2 separate regions of the Homo sapiens genome follow, and region 2 is linked to region 1. Evidence: promoter capture Hi-C in 16 types of primary human blood cells and fetal thymus (Javierre and others, 2016). All regions are on one chromosome and are shown on one strand. The core of a region is centred on a gene start or on the middle of the fragment in contact, and the rest is flanking DNA. Distances in the headings are between cores, read along the strand shown. Region 1 holds the start of SH3GL1 (SH3 domain containing GRB2 like 1, endophilin A2). Region 2 holds the start of APBA3 (amyloid beta precursor protein binding family A member 3).

What was found. The method cuts DNA at HindIII sites, captures the fragments that hold promoters and counts their contacts. A CHiCAGO score of 5 or more calls a contact.
Region 2: a contact is called between a fragment that was not itself captured here and the fragment with the promoter of SH3GL1 in region 1, in 3 of 17 cell types (total B cells, naive CD8 T cells and naive CD4 T cells). The highest score is 6.5, in total B cells.

The regions. Positions count from the first base shown.
Region 1 is chr19:4,395,848-4,401,901 of GRCh38, reverse strand. SH3GL1 (SH3 domain containing GRB2 like 1, endophilin A2) reads left to right here and starts at 1,355. Exons shown (of 10, transcript NM_003025.4): 1 at 1,355-1,578. The coding sequence starts at 1,534. RefSeq lists silencers at 1,257-1,766, 1,827-1,876 and an enhancer at 1,165-1,994. The HindIII fragment of the contact is 26,532 bases long and covers 1-6,054 here.
Region 2 is chr19:3,761,233-3,767,286 of GRCh38, reverse strand. It overlaps APBA3 (amyloid beta precursor protein binding family A member 3), which reads left to right and starts at 5,595. Exons shown (of 11, transcript NM_004886.4): 1 at 5,595-5,751. MRPL54 (mitochondrial ribosomal protein L54) reads right to left here and starts at 4,605. Exons shown (of 3, transcript NM_172251.3): 1 at 4,469-4,605; 2 at 1,956-2,121; 3 at 1-26. The coding sequence starts at 4,586. It overlaps LOC105372248 (a long non-coding RNA gene), which reads left to right and starts at 4,647. Exons shown (of 3, transcript XR_936268.1): 1 at 4,647-4,729; 2 at 5,081-5,138; 3 at 5,433-5,533. RefSeq lists an enhancer at 4,242-4,731 and a silencer at 5,393-5,710. The HindIII fragment of the contact is 175 bases long and covers 4,717-4,891 here.

The DNA.
Region 1 (6,054 bases), core at 106-2,605:
TTATTAGTTTGTTATTTGACTAATGAATTAATTTCTGCCTTTTGTCATTAGTTCTGGCGAGGGTAGGACTCATTCCTCACTGGAACCCCAGGACCTGTTAGTAACTGATCATATTTACCAGGTCAATAAATGTTTGAGTGAATGTATAAATATTTGATTGAACTGTGTAGATCAAGCAGATTAAAAGCCTCACACAAAACAGAGAACTTCAGTGTCAGCCTGTGAGTGTAGAAACAGGTTTTCTTTCTTTCTTTCTTCCTTCCTTCCTTCCTTCCTTCCTTCCTTCCTTCCTTTCTTTCTTTCTTTTTTCTTGAGACGGAGTCCCTAGTAGCTGGGACCACAGGCGCCCGCCACCACGTCCGGCTAATTTTTTCTATTTTTTAGTAGAGACAGGGTTTCACCGTGTTAGCCAGGATGGTCTCAATCTCCTGACCTCGTGATCCGCCCACCTAGGCCTCCCAAAGTGCTGGGATTACAGGCGTGAGCCACCGCCCCTGGCCCTGAATTGCATTCTAGAAGCATCTTTCTGGCTGCCATGACAAGGAAGAATTGGAGGGGAGGACTGGTGGAAAGTATGGTCAAGGCATGAAGACAGACCTAGATGTCTAGATGTGTCACGTGGGCAACTGAATGGATGAACACAGGACAGAGAGAGAGAGGAAGAGAGGTGGCCGGGCACGGTGGCTCATACCTGTGAGACCAGTACTTTGGGAGGCTGGATTTGGTGGGGGGGTTGGGGGTTGGATCACCTGAGGTCAGGAGTTCGAGACCAGCCTGGCCAACATGGCGAAACACTGTCTCTACTAAAAATACAAAAATTAGCCTAGCATGGTGGTGCGCGCCTGTAATCTCAGCTACTTGGGAGGCTGAGGCAGGAGAATCGCTTGAACCCGGGAGGCGGAGGTTGCAGTGAGCCGAGATCACGCCACTGCACTCCAGCCTGGGAGACAAAGCAAGACTCCGTCTCAAAAAAAAAATAAATAAATAAATAAAAATGGGAGGGGGCTGAACACTTAGACGAACTGGATTTAGCTAAGATGAGTAAACAGGAATCTGAAGAATCGTAAGCAGGGGCCCCTTCTACTTCCCAACCTCCCTGGCCAGGTTTAAACTAAGCGCGTTTTCCAAGACGTTAGGGTCACCTCCACGACTCCAGGGGGCGCTGCAACTGCTACGGCCCCTCTAGGCTCGCCCCGCTCAACTCACTGACAGAGGCGGCCTCTCCCGCGGTAGACAATGTGCACGTGCGCTCTTCAGCCGGCAGAGGGCGCGCGTGCGCAGACGGGGCCGGGGGCGCGCGCGGGGGCCGGGGGCGCGCGCGGGGGCCGGCACCGGAAGCGTGCGGTTGCCATGTAATATCCTGGCCGCGCGGGCGCGCGAGCGGCTGAGGCGGCGCCGGGGCGGGCGCGGAGCTGGCAAGCGGGTGGCGGAGGCGGCGCCGACGGGGACTGCTGAGGCGCGCAGAGGGTCGGCGGCGCCCGGGAGCCTGTCGCTGGCGCGGTCCGGGCGGGAGGCTCGGCGGCGGGCGGCAGCATGTCGGTGGCGGGGCTGAAGAAGCAGTTCTACAAGGCGAGCCAGGTGAGCGCAGGCCCAGGCGGGAGCCGAGTACCGGGCCCCGGGCTGCCCGGATGAGGGAGCCAGGCCCGACCTGGCCCGGGAGGGGGCCGGGGGGACCGAGGTGGGGACGTTGGCGCGTGTCCCCTGCCAGGTGGGAAGACCAAGGGACGGACGGGGGCGACGAGGTGGCCCAGGCCCTGCCCGCCATGCGGGCTCCAGAAGCGGGGACAGAGCCCCTGGGAGGAGGGGAGAGGCACCCTGGGCTGCCCAGGGACGCGGACCTCTCCCCTCCTTCTCTCCGCTGCAAAGGCGGGGTGCGGGGAGAGAAGGGGAAGAGAGGAGTCCCGAGGCTGTCGACACAGGACTCTTGCCAGATAACCCAGAGCCAGGGAAAAGTTGCGTCTAGAGCAGTTACGTTCAAAATCCTCTGGATGGGCAAGGTACAAAGTTGAAAAGGTAGAGGAAGAAGTCAGTTTCCCCTCTCTGCTCCTCGGGCAGCCAGCCCTTCTCCCCAGAGACAAGCGACTGTCATCGACTCCGTATGTCCCTTTCCTAAGATACGTGTGTGCCTTTCCTTTAAAAACACGTACCCTGTGATAGCATATGCCACAGAATCCTGTGTGCTGTGTTTTTCATTGCTTGGAGATCACACTGGAGCGGGATTTCTCCCCCTCCGTCGGCACTGTTGACATCTGGGGCTGGATTGTTCTCCGTGGTGGGGCCGTCCTGGGCACTGCGGGGTGCTGAGCAGCGCCCCTGGCCTCCACCCACTCCGGGCCAGGAGCACCCCCAAGTCGTGACAACCAAAAATATCTTGAGACATCACCGTGTGTCCCCTTAGAATCAGTCCTCCTTCCCTCCCTTCGTTCCTTCCTTCCTTCTTTCCTTCCTTCCTCCCTCCCTCCTTGCCTCTCTCCCTCCCTCCCTTCTCTTCTTTCCTTCCTCCCTTCCTTTCCTGTCCCCCAGGACTACTGCTCTAGACCATACTCCACACTTCTTGGATTTTTTTTTTTTTTTTTTTTTTTGAGAGGGAGTCATGCTCTGTCGCCCCAGCTGGAGGGCAGTGGTGCAATCTCGGCTCACTGCAAGCTCCGCCTCCTGTGTTCAAGCAATTCTCCTGCCTCAGCCTCCCCAGTAGCTGGGACTACAGGCATGCGCCACCACGCCCGGCTACTTTTTGTAATTTTAGCAGAGACAGGGTTTCTCCATGTGCCCCAGGGTGGTCTCGAACTCCTGGCCTCAAGTAATCCGCCTGCTTCGGCTTCCCAACATGCTGGGATTATCGACGTAAGCCACCTGCCTGGCCTACTTGGCTCTTTTTAATGGGTACATTGTATTTCATTCCATGACATATACCATAATTTATTTAACCAGTTGTCAGTTGATAGATATCTCTATTGTTTACCGGAATTTTCTGTTACCATTACTACAATAAATAGCCAGTGAATATCTTTGCTCACCAGTGGGATTAGTTTTATAGGATGAATTCCCAGAAGTAGAATGCTGCATCCCAGCCTAAGTGCATTTGATATGGACAGATAAAGGGTTTTTTTTGGAAACTCCAGGGCCCACTGCTCATGAATCTGGTGAAAGCTGTGGATCCACTCTCCAGAAAACTGGGCACATTTAAAATTTTCACTTTGCAATTTCGAATGCAAGAAGCCTCAAATTTGGCCGGGCGCGGTGGCTCATGCCTGGAATCCCAGCAGTTTGGGAGGCCGAGGCGGGCGGATCACTTGAAGCCAGGAGTTTGAGAGCAGCCTGGGCAACATGGCAAAACCCCATCTCTACTAACAATACAAAAATTTTGTATTTTTGCCTGTAACCCCAGCTACTAAGGAGGGTGAGACAGGAGAATCTCTTGAATCCGGCAGGCAGAGGTTGCAGTGAGCCGAGATTGCACCACTGCACTCCAGCCTGGGTGACAGAGCGAGACTCCGTCTTGAAAAAAAAAAAAAGACAAGAAGCCTCAGATTGTTGAATCCTATTGGTCCGTGTACTGCAGGGTGAGGTTGTGTGGAATTTGTGTAGATAGAGTCCACCGAGGAATGAGCAATGATCTTAGCAAATGCTTGGGCCAAGGTGGCAAACAGGGTTCTCTGCCCACAGTTCGGAGATGCCCAGTGGGAGCAAAGAGAAACGAGTCCCCAGTAACACCCAGCAGGTACCTTTGCCCCTGGAAAGAAAAAAGTAAGGACCCTGCCAGGTGCTGTGGCTCATGCCTGTAATCCCAGCACTTTGAAGGCTGAGGCAGGGGTTCCCTTGAGTTCAGGAGTTCAAGACCAGCCTGGGCGATATAGGGAGATCCCATCTCTACAAAATATGAAAAAGTTAGCCAGGTGTGGTGATGTGCACCTGCAGTCCCAGCTACTTGGGAGGCTGAGGCAGGAGGACCACTTGAGCCCAGCAGTTCAAGGCTGCAGTGAACTATGATCGTGCCACTGCACTTCAGCCTGGGCAGCAAAGTGAGACCCTGTCTCAAAAAATAAATAAAAAAAGTAACAACCCTAGTGGTTGTTTAGGGATATAGATACTTAGGGTCTATCTCTACACCCCAGATGATGGTTAAACCCTGGAGAAAGATTTAATCCAGACGAATTTTAGAGTTGTCACTGAGAACAGTCCCACCCCCTTGCCCCAGCACTTTGAAATCAGATGGCCTGGCCCTGGGTTAGACCTTGCCCAGCAGGCGTCAGACCTTCACCTGCTTGGTTAGAGCACCATAGAGTACTGCTCCCTAGCAGGAAAGATGTCCTCAGAGGTCTTGGAGGAATTCCTGGGCCACTTTGTTCCCTGCTATAGACAGGTCTCTGGAAGCCACCACCCCCACTCCCAGCGATCAGGGCCTGTGCCCATATTGTCCTGAGCTGACACCCTCTTTAGAGGAATGAACCAGGCCTCTTGTGCCGGCCACCAGGACTTTGTCTCTCTCAAGGGAAGCAGGATGACCTGCGTTCAGATCTGTGAATGGCGCCTTGAAGCCTGGAAAGGACAGTGTGGTGTTAGCTGGGCTTAGGATTGCCTATTTCCACATCCCGAGGCCTAGTCCCAAAGCACAATGGCCACAGCCCACCCTCGGGGCTGTCGTCTTGGCCTCCTGGTCAATTCTGTCCTGAGTCGTGCTCTTAGAAGTCACCCTGGCTGCGTTCCATGCTCTTCTGTGATCATTGCCATGGTTCCCTCTGACATCTCAGCTGTTATCTGGACGTATCCGACTATTTGTGTCTCTTTTTTTGTTTTTAGTCTAATAACAACTCTTTCACCCTCTGCTGTGCCTGTTGGAAAGTGACATCTCTCGGGATCTCTCATTACGTAGTGATACAAACATTTATTGAGTTCTCACCATGTGAGCAGGCAGTATGCTTTATACCAGTAGGTCTCAGCTGGTCTTGCTTATCCGGTCTAAGGGTAAAAAACATTCCCCCTTTTACACAAAAGGATTAGGGGACATTTATCTTCCTGTAAAACAGGGCCAGTTCTGTCCTCCAGGGGACATTGACAATGTCTGGGACCTTTTTGGTTGTCACAGCTTGGTGCGGTGCTGCTGGCTACTAGTAGGTAGACGATATTGCTGGACATCCTCCGGTGCCCAGGGCAGCATCTCCCCACTGCCCCCAAGAATTACCTGGCCCCAAATGTCAATAGTACCAAAATTTGAGAAACCCTGCTTGAAGATTTGGAAAAAAAATGAGGATAATTATACCAAAACAAAGGAACAAAAAAATCCCCACTGAGCCATTCTTACGATTTTCCTAGTTTGGCCAGGTGTGGTGGCTCACGCCTTTAATCCCAGCAGTTTGGGAAGCACTCCAGCCTGGTGGATGAGAGCGAGACTTCGTCTCAAAAAAAAAAAAAGTAAAATATAAAATAAAACAAAGATTTTCCTAGTTTGCTAAACACAGATAGCCACATGTGTAGTTTGTTTTTGTTTGTTTGTTTGTTTTTGAGACGGAGCTTCTCTCTTGTTGCCCAGGCTGGAGTACAATGGCACGATCTCGGCTCACTGCAACCTCCGCCTCCTCTGTTCAAGCAATTCTCCTGCCTCAGCCTCCCGAGTAGCTGCGATTACAGGCACCCACCACCATGCCCCGCTAATTTTTTTGTATTTTTAGTAGAGACGGGGTTTCACCATGTTGGCCAGGCTGGTCTCGAACTCTTGACCTCGGGTGATCTACCTGCCTCAGTCTCCCAAAGTGCTGAGATTACAGGCATGAGCCATGGCACCCCGCCCCACAGGTAGATATTTACATAAAACTCAGCATCCAGACCCTAAGGTCGAGCCCACCCTCAAGTCTTTAGGAAAATTCGAGTGTCTTTCAGTATCTGGGCTTCTTTTTTAGGGGGGAGCTAGATCCACCATAAACATTTTATGTGTATATGTACACCGTTTATCATATACATATTGTGACAACTGTATATATATATATATATTTTGAGACAGAGTCTTGCTCTGTCACCCAGGCTGGAGTGCAGTGGCGCAATCTTGGCTTACTGAGA
Region 2 (6,054 bases), core at 3,555-6,054, 640 kb after region 1:
GGGGACCCAAGTTCATCTCGAACAGCCTGACGGGGGTGCGGGCAGGAATCAGAGCTACACGGTGACCCCTGGGCTCCCTGGTGTCCCGGGCACCTCGGGCAGAGGCGGCGACGGGGCTGGGTGCCAGGCCCACTGGTTGGCTGCATGATCTCAGGGTGGTCCCTCCCCGACCCTGGGCTGGGTGGGTCCCTGGCCATGCAGCAATGGAGCCAACCCCATCCCAGTGGCACATCTGAGGCTGGCACACGCCAAGCCCTCTCCTGCCTCCTAGCACTGTCCACATCATGCCACCTGCCCCCACTTGCTCAGCCTTCCTGACCCTCCCCAGCCTTCAGATCAGCTTGGGGCCACAGCAGAACCCTTCCTGCAGCCCACAGGTCCTGCCCTCACCTCCTCCCTCTCTCGCCCTCCTCACTGTGCTCCAGCCACACAGGCCTCCCCGCTGTTCCTCCAGCACACCAGGTGCGGTCCTGCCCCGGGGCCTTTGCACAGGCTGTGCCCACTGCCTGGAAAGCCCCTTCCACCCACTCCCGTCTTGGCTTCTGTGTCCCCCAAACCTCAAACTAGAGCAGCCAAACACCCCGGCTCTGTCCCTCATTCTCCTGCCCCCTTCCTGGAAGTGTCACCACCACAGCTGCCTGACTTCCTCCTTCCTGTCTGCCTCCCCAGCTAGCTCCGCCAGGGTGGGGACTTGTGTCTGTTTTGAGCCCTTCTGTATCCCTCAAGCCTAGAGCAGGGCCTGGCATGCAGTCAGTGGTCAATAAGTATTTGCAGGACGGGTGCGGCGGCTCACGCCTGTACTCCCAGCACTTTGGGAGGCCGAGGTGGGCGGATCACCTGAGGTCAGGAGTTCAAGACCAGCCTGGCCAACATGGAGAAACCCTGTCTCTACTAAAAATACAAAATTAGGCCAGGCGTGGTGGCTCACGCCTGTAATCCCAGCACTTTGGGAGGCCAGGGCAGGCGGATCACGAGGTTATCAGGAGTTCGAGACTAGCCTGGCAAACATGGTGAAACCCTGTCTCTACTAAAAATACAAAAATTAGCTGGGTGTGACGGCGGGCACCTGTAATCCCAGCTACTCGGGAGGCTGAGGCAGGAGAATCATTGGAACACTGGGAGGTGGAGGTTGCAGTGAGCCAAGATCACACCACTGCACTCCAGCCTGGGCGACAAGAGCAAAACTCCATCTCAAAAAAAAAAAAAAATTAGCCAGGCATGGTGGCGCATGCCTGTAATCCCAGCTACTCTGAAGGCTGAGGCAGGAGAACCGCTTGAACCCAGGAGGCAGAGGTTGCAGTGAGCCAAGACCACATGACTGCATTCCACACTGGGTGACAGAGCAAGACTCCATATAGAAGAAAAAAAAAAATTTTTTTTTTTTTTTTTGAGACCAAGTCTCACTCTGTTGCCCAGGCTGGAGTACAATGGCGTGATCTCAGCTCACTGCAACCTCTGCCTCCCAGGCTCAAGCAATTCTCGTGCCTCAGCCTCCCAAGTAACTGGGACTACAGGAATGTGCCACCACACCCGGCTAATTTTTATATTTTTAGTAGAGACGAGGTTTCACCATGTTGGCCAGGCTGGTCTCGAACTCCTGACCTCAGGTGATCCAAACGCCTTGCCTCCCAAAGTGCTGGGATTACAGGTGTGAGCCACGGCGCCCAGCCTGAAAAAAAATTTTTTTTAAGTATTTGCTTAAGATAAAGCATTGTTTTAGGTACTTGACATGTGTTCTAATCTCATGAATTCCTCACAGCCCTCTGAGGGAGGGATGGGTCCCATCACCCCATTACAGATGGGCAGAGCCCTGAAGCCCCCTGCCCTAAAGCCAGGATGGGTAGGTGTGACTATTAGGCTCCGGCTGGAGTGGCGATCCGCCTCTCCGGGAAGGGGTCCTCCTGGGGCGGAGGAAGGAATAGTCATTGCAGGATGACACAGCCTGGCCTACTCACCATTCAGGGTACTCAGCATCCGGTTTCAGGGGTACATCCTGCCCTTCCTTGTAGATGTTGACGCCCATGGCATATGTGGTGAGCTGGACAGGATCTGTGCATACGTCGGGGTCCTTGAGGGCCTCGCTGGTCACTGCACCTTTTCCCGATTTGGCCCCCTTCATAACTGGGGAGACGAGAGGGAGAGTCATTTCAGCCCAGCCCCTCCTCTGGAAGCCAAACTTCTCTCACAGAACCCTGTCTCAGGTGGCCTCTGCCCCTGGCTGGACTCTGCTACACTCAAAACTTTCTTTTTTTTTTTTTTTGAGACGGAGTCTCGCTCTGTTGCCCAGGTGGAGTGCAGTGGCGCAGTCTCAGCTCACTGCAAGCTCCGCCTCCCGGGTTCAAGCCATTCTCCTGCCTCAGCCTCCCAAGTAGCTGGGACTACAGGCGCCCACCACCACGCCCAGCTAATTTTTTGTATTTTTAGTAGAGACGGGGTTTCACCGTGTTAGCCAGGATGGTCTCGATCTCCTGACCTCGTGATCTGCCCACCTTGGCCTCCCAAAGTGTTGGGATTACAGGCGTGAGCCACCGCGCCCGGCCACTCAAAACTTTTTTTTAAAGACAGGGTCTCAGCCAGGCATAGTGGCTCATGCCTGTAATCCCAGCACTCTGGGAGGCCGAGGTGGGAAGATCACCTGAGGTCAGGTGAGTTTAAGACCAGCCTGGCCAACATGGTGAAAACTTGTCTCTACTAAAAATACAAAAAAAAAAATTAGCTGGGCATGGTGGCATATGCCTGTGATCCCAGCTACTCGGGAGGCTGAGGCAGGAGAATCACTTGAACCCGGGAGGCGGAGGTTGCAGTGAGCTGAGATCGCATCGCTGCACTCCAGCCTAGGTTACAGAGCAAGATTCCATCTCAAAAAAATAAAAAATCTAAAAAATTAAAAAATAAAGACAGCCCGGCCGGGCGCGGCGGCTCACGCCTGTAATCCCAGCTCTTTGGGAGGCCAAGGTGGGCGGATCACGAGGTCAGGAGGTTGAGACCATCCTGGCTAACATGGTGAAATTCCATCTCTACTAAAAATACAAAAACATTAGCCGGGCATGGTGGTGGGCACCTGTGGTCCCAGCTACTTGGGAGGCTGAGGCAGGAGAATGGCGTGAACCCAGGAGGCGGAGCTTGCAGTGAGCCAAGATTGCGCCACTGCACACTCCAGCCTGGGCGACAGAGCGAGACTCCGTCTGAAGAAAATAAAAAAATAAAAAATAAAAGCCCAGGCTGGAGGGCAGGGGCACAATCATGGCTCACTGCAGCCTCAAACTCCCAGGCTCAAGTGATCCTTCTGCCTCAGCCTCCCAAGTAGCTGAGATCACAGTTGTGAGCCACCATGCCCCGCTTATTTTTATTTTTATTTATTTATTTATTTATTTTGAGACAGAGTCTCACTGTGTCGCCCAGGCTGGAGTGCAGTGGCGTGATCTCGGCTCACTGCAACCTCCGCCTCCTGGGTTCAAGCAGTTCTCCTGCCTCAGCCTCCTGAGTAGCTGGGATTACAGACATGTGCCACCATGCCCCACTAATTTTTGTATTTTTAGTAGAGCTAGGGTTTCACCATGTTGGTCAGGCTGATCTTGAATTCCTGACCTTGTGATCCACCTGCATCAGCCTCCCAAAGTGCTGGGATTACAGGCGTGAGCTACCGCGCCAGGCAATTTTTTTTTTTTTTTATACAAACAGGGTCCTGCTATGTTGCCCAGGCTGGTCTCGAACTCCTGGGTTCAAGCAATCGATCCTCCCTCCTTGGCTTCCCAAAGTGCCGGGAATAAAGGTGTGAGCCATCATGCCTGGCCTCGAAATCACTTTAAGTGGGATTTGGACACAGCATTAAGTAACTTTAAGTGGGATTTGGACATAGCATTAAGTAACACCGATGCTTGGAATGACCAAGTCATTCAAGTTATATTTTGTCTGCTATGTGTCTGTCTTTAAGGCCGAACATTGGACAATTTCCCCCTTTCAACAAAGGAGATCAGGCAAGGCTGTATCCAGCTAAACCTTAATAACCTTGTTTTGTTCTTGCTGAAGTGGCCAATTAAACGGGCTCCATAATTTCTTTGAATGTTTGGTAACGTCTTGGCCAAGGTTACCCAGCGATTTGGAGGCAGGCAGAGAAACAGAACTGGAACCCAAGTTCATGACCTCCCCAGACTCCCTTCAAATCCTTTCCAACCCGCGCCTGCGCAGTGAAACGCGTGGTCTCCACGTAACCACATCCTCCTCCCAGGCCGCTCCGCCCCAAGCTGGCGCCTGCGCCCTGGGTCCAATCGCTACAGTATCTCCGAGCCAGACGCCCGAGCTCCAAGCGGCGCTGGGTCCCTCAAACTGCGCCTGCGCATACAGCCTGGCATCCGCCTCTCTGCGCTTGCGCATCAGTTCTAGCACCACCTCCCCAACCACCGCCTGCGCACTGTCAATTCCTCAGTGCACCCACCGTCCCCATTTGGTTCCTCTTAACCCAGCTCACCTGGTTTCTTGGCATAATCCCGGGCCAGGAGTCTTCCGGAAGTGGCGGGGTTTAGGAGCTCCCAGGCCCCCCAGCCGGCCCACGTCCGGGTAGCCCCGAAAAGGCGTTTGGTCGCCATGACGTATTGCGGGCAGCTTGCAAGTGCACGTTTCCGGAAGACGTCAGTGGCCCAAGGGTGTTTGGGAGTTGTAGGCCCCGTGGAAGTGTAGGCCCCGTGGAGGTGTCTGGGAAATGCGGTCTCCCAAGCTTTCATAATCTATGGTGATTTCTTCAGACTTTTGTAGACATACACAGTTACTATAGGAGGAGGCGTTCAAGGGATATTTCATTGACTTCTTGCCCTTCTTCAATTACATAACATTTACTAAAAATATCACACTTTATATGTTCCTGATTCCATCCAATGAGTAATTATTCAAAGCTTTAAAGTTAAAAAAAGAAGATTAACAATGAGTCTAATATACTCCAGTAGGGCTGGAGTCTAATCACTGTTAATTTTTATAACATTATATTTTTAAAATTATATATAACATATATAATACATATAATATATAGTATGTTTTATATATAATATATAAATTAATAATATATATTTTATATATTCTTTTCCAGCTCTACTACTGCTAAATCCTTAACCCGCTTGATCTAATTTAATCCTCACAATTGAGAGGTAGGTACTATTTTTTCCCCAGCTTATAATGAGGAAACTGAGTTCTCAGGGAGGTAAAGTTCCCAGGCCGACCCCAAATCCATGGTGCACCTATGTGTCTCCCTACTGTGAGCCAAACCGAAAGTCCGTCTTTAACAGGGTCTCCACGACGCTTCCGGTGCCTCAAGGTCCCAAGGAAACCACCTCTCACACTTCTTTAATATTTCCCAACCCCACTTCTCCCCATCTGCCATCCTTTGGAATAATGAACACAGCCCCCAGAGCCAGGCAGTGATTATTAACCCTATTTTGCAGGAGAACAAACAGGTCCTGGGGCCAGCCGGGGCAGTCTGCGGGCCGGGAAGCCTGGGATTCGAACTCCCCTCCAACATCTGCAGTTGTCCCAGCGCCCCCGCGTGGCGAGGCTGGGTGGGAGAACTACATTTCCCAGCAGGCCTCGCGAGGCCGCGCATGCTCAATGGGCCAGGGCTCTGCGCGGATAGAGGAGCGGGCGCCGGGACCGGGAATCCCCGAGCTGCGCCTTCTGGGGACGCGGCCCGGGCTACGTCGGGGCCGTCCGTGGGGAGCGGGGTCCTGGAGGCTGCGCGGGGCTGAGGCGGCCTCGATTTGGGAAGTGAGTGTCCTCGAGGTGCAGAGCGCAGTCTGAGTCGGCGCTTGAGGTCTTCGGTCTGAGGGGGGACTAGGGTCTGGGCTTGGGGCTGGGTCCTGAAGTCGGGGTCTGAGTCTGGAGTCGATCTTGGGGTAGCATTGGAGGTTTGGAGACTGGGGTCCGCCTTATGGCGTCTTGGGTCTCTGGTATTAAGTCCAGGGTCCTGGGTCTAAAGTTCTGGATGGAGGTATTGGGGGTTGAGGTCATGGGACTGGGGTCTTGGGTCTGGGGTCTTGGGGAACTGCCTCTGACCAGTCGGTAGAGTCA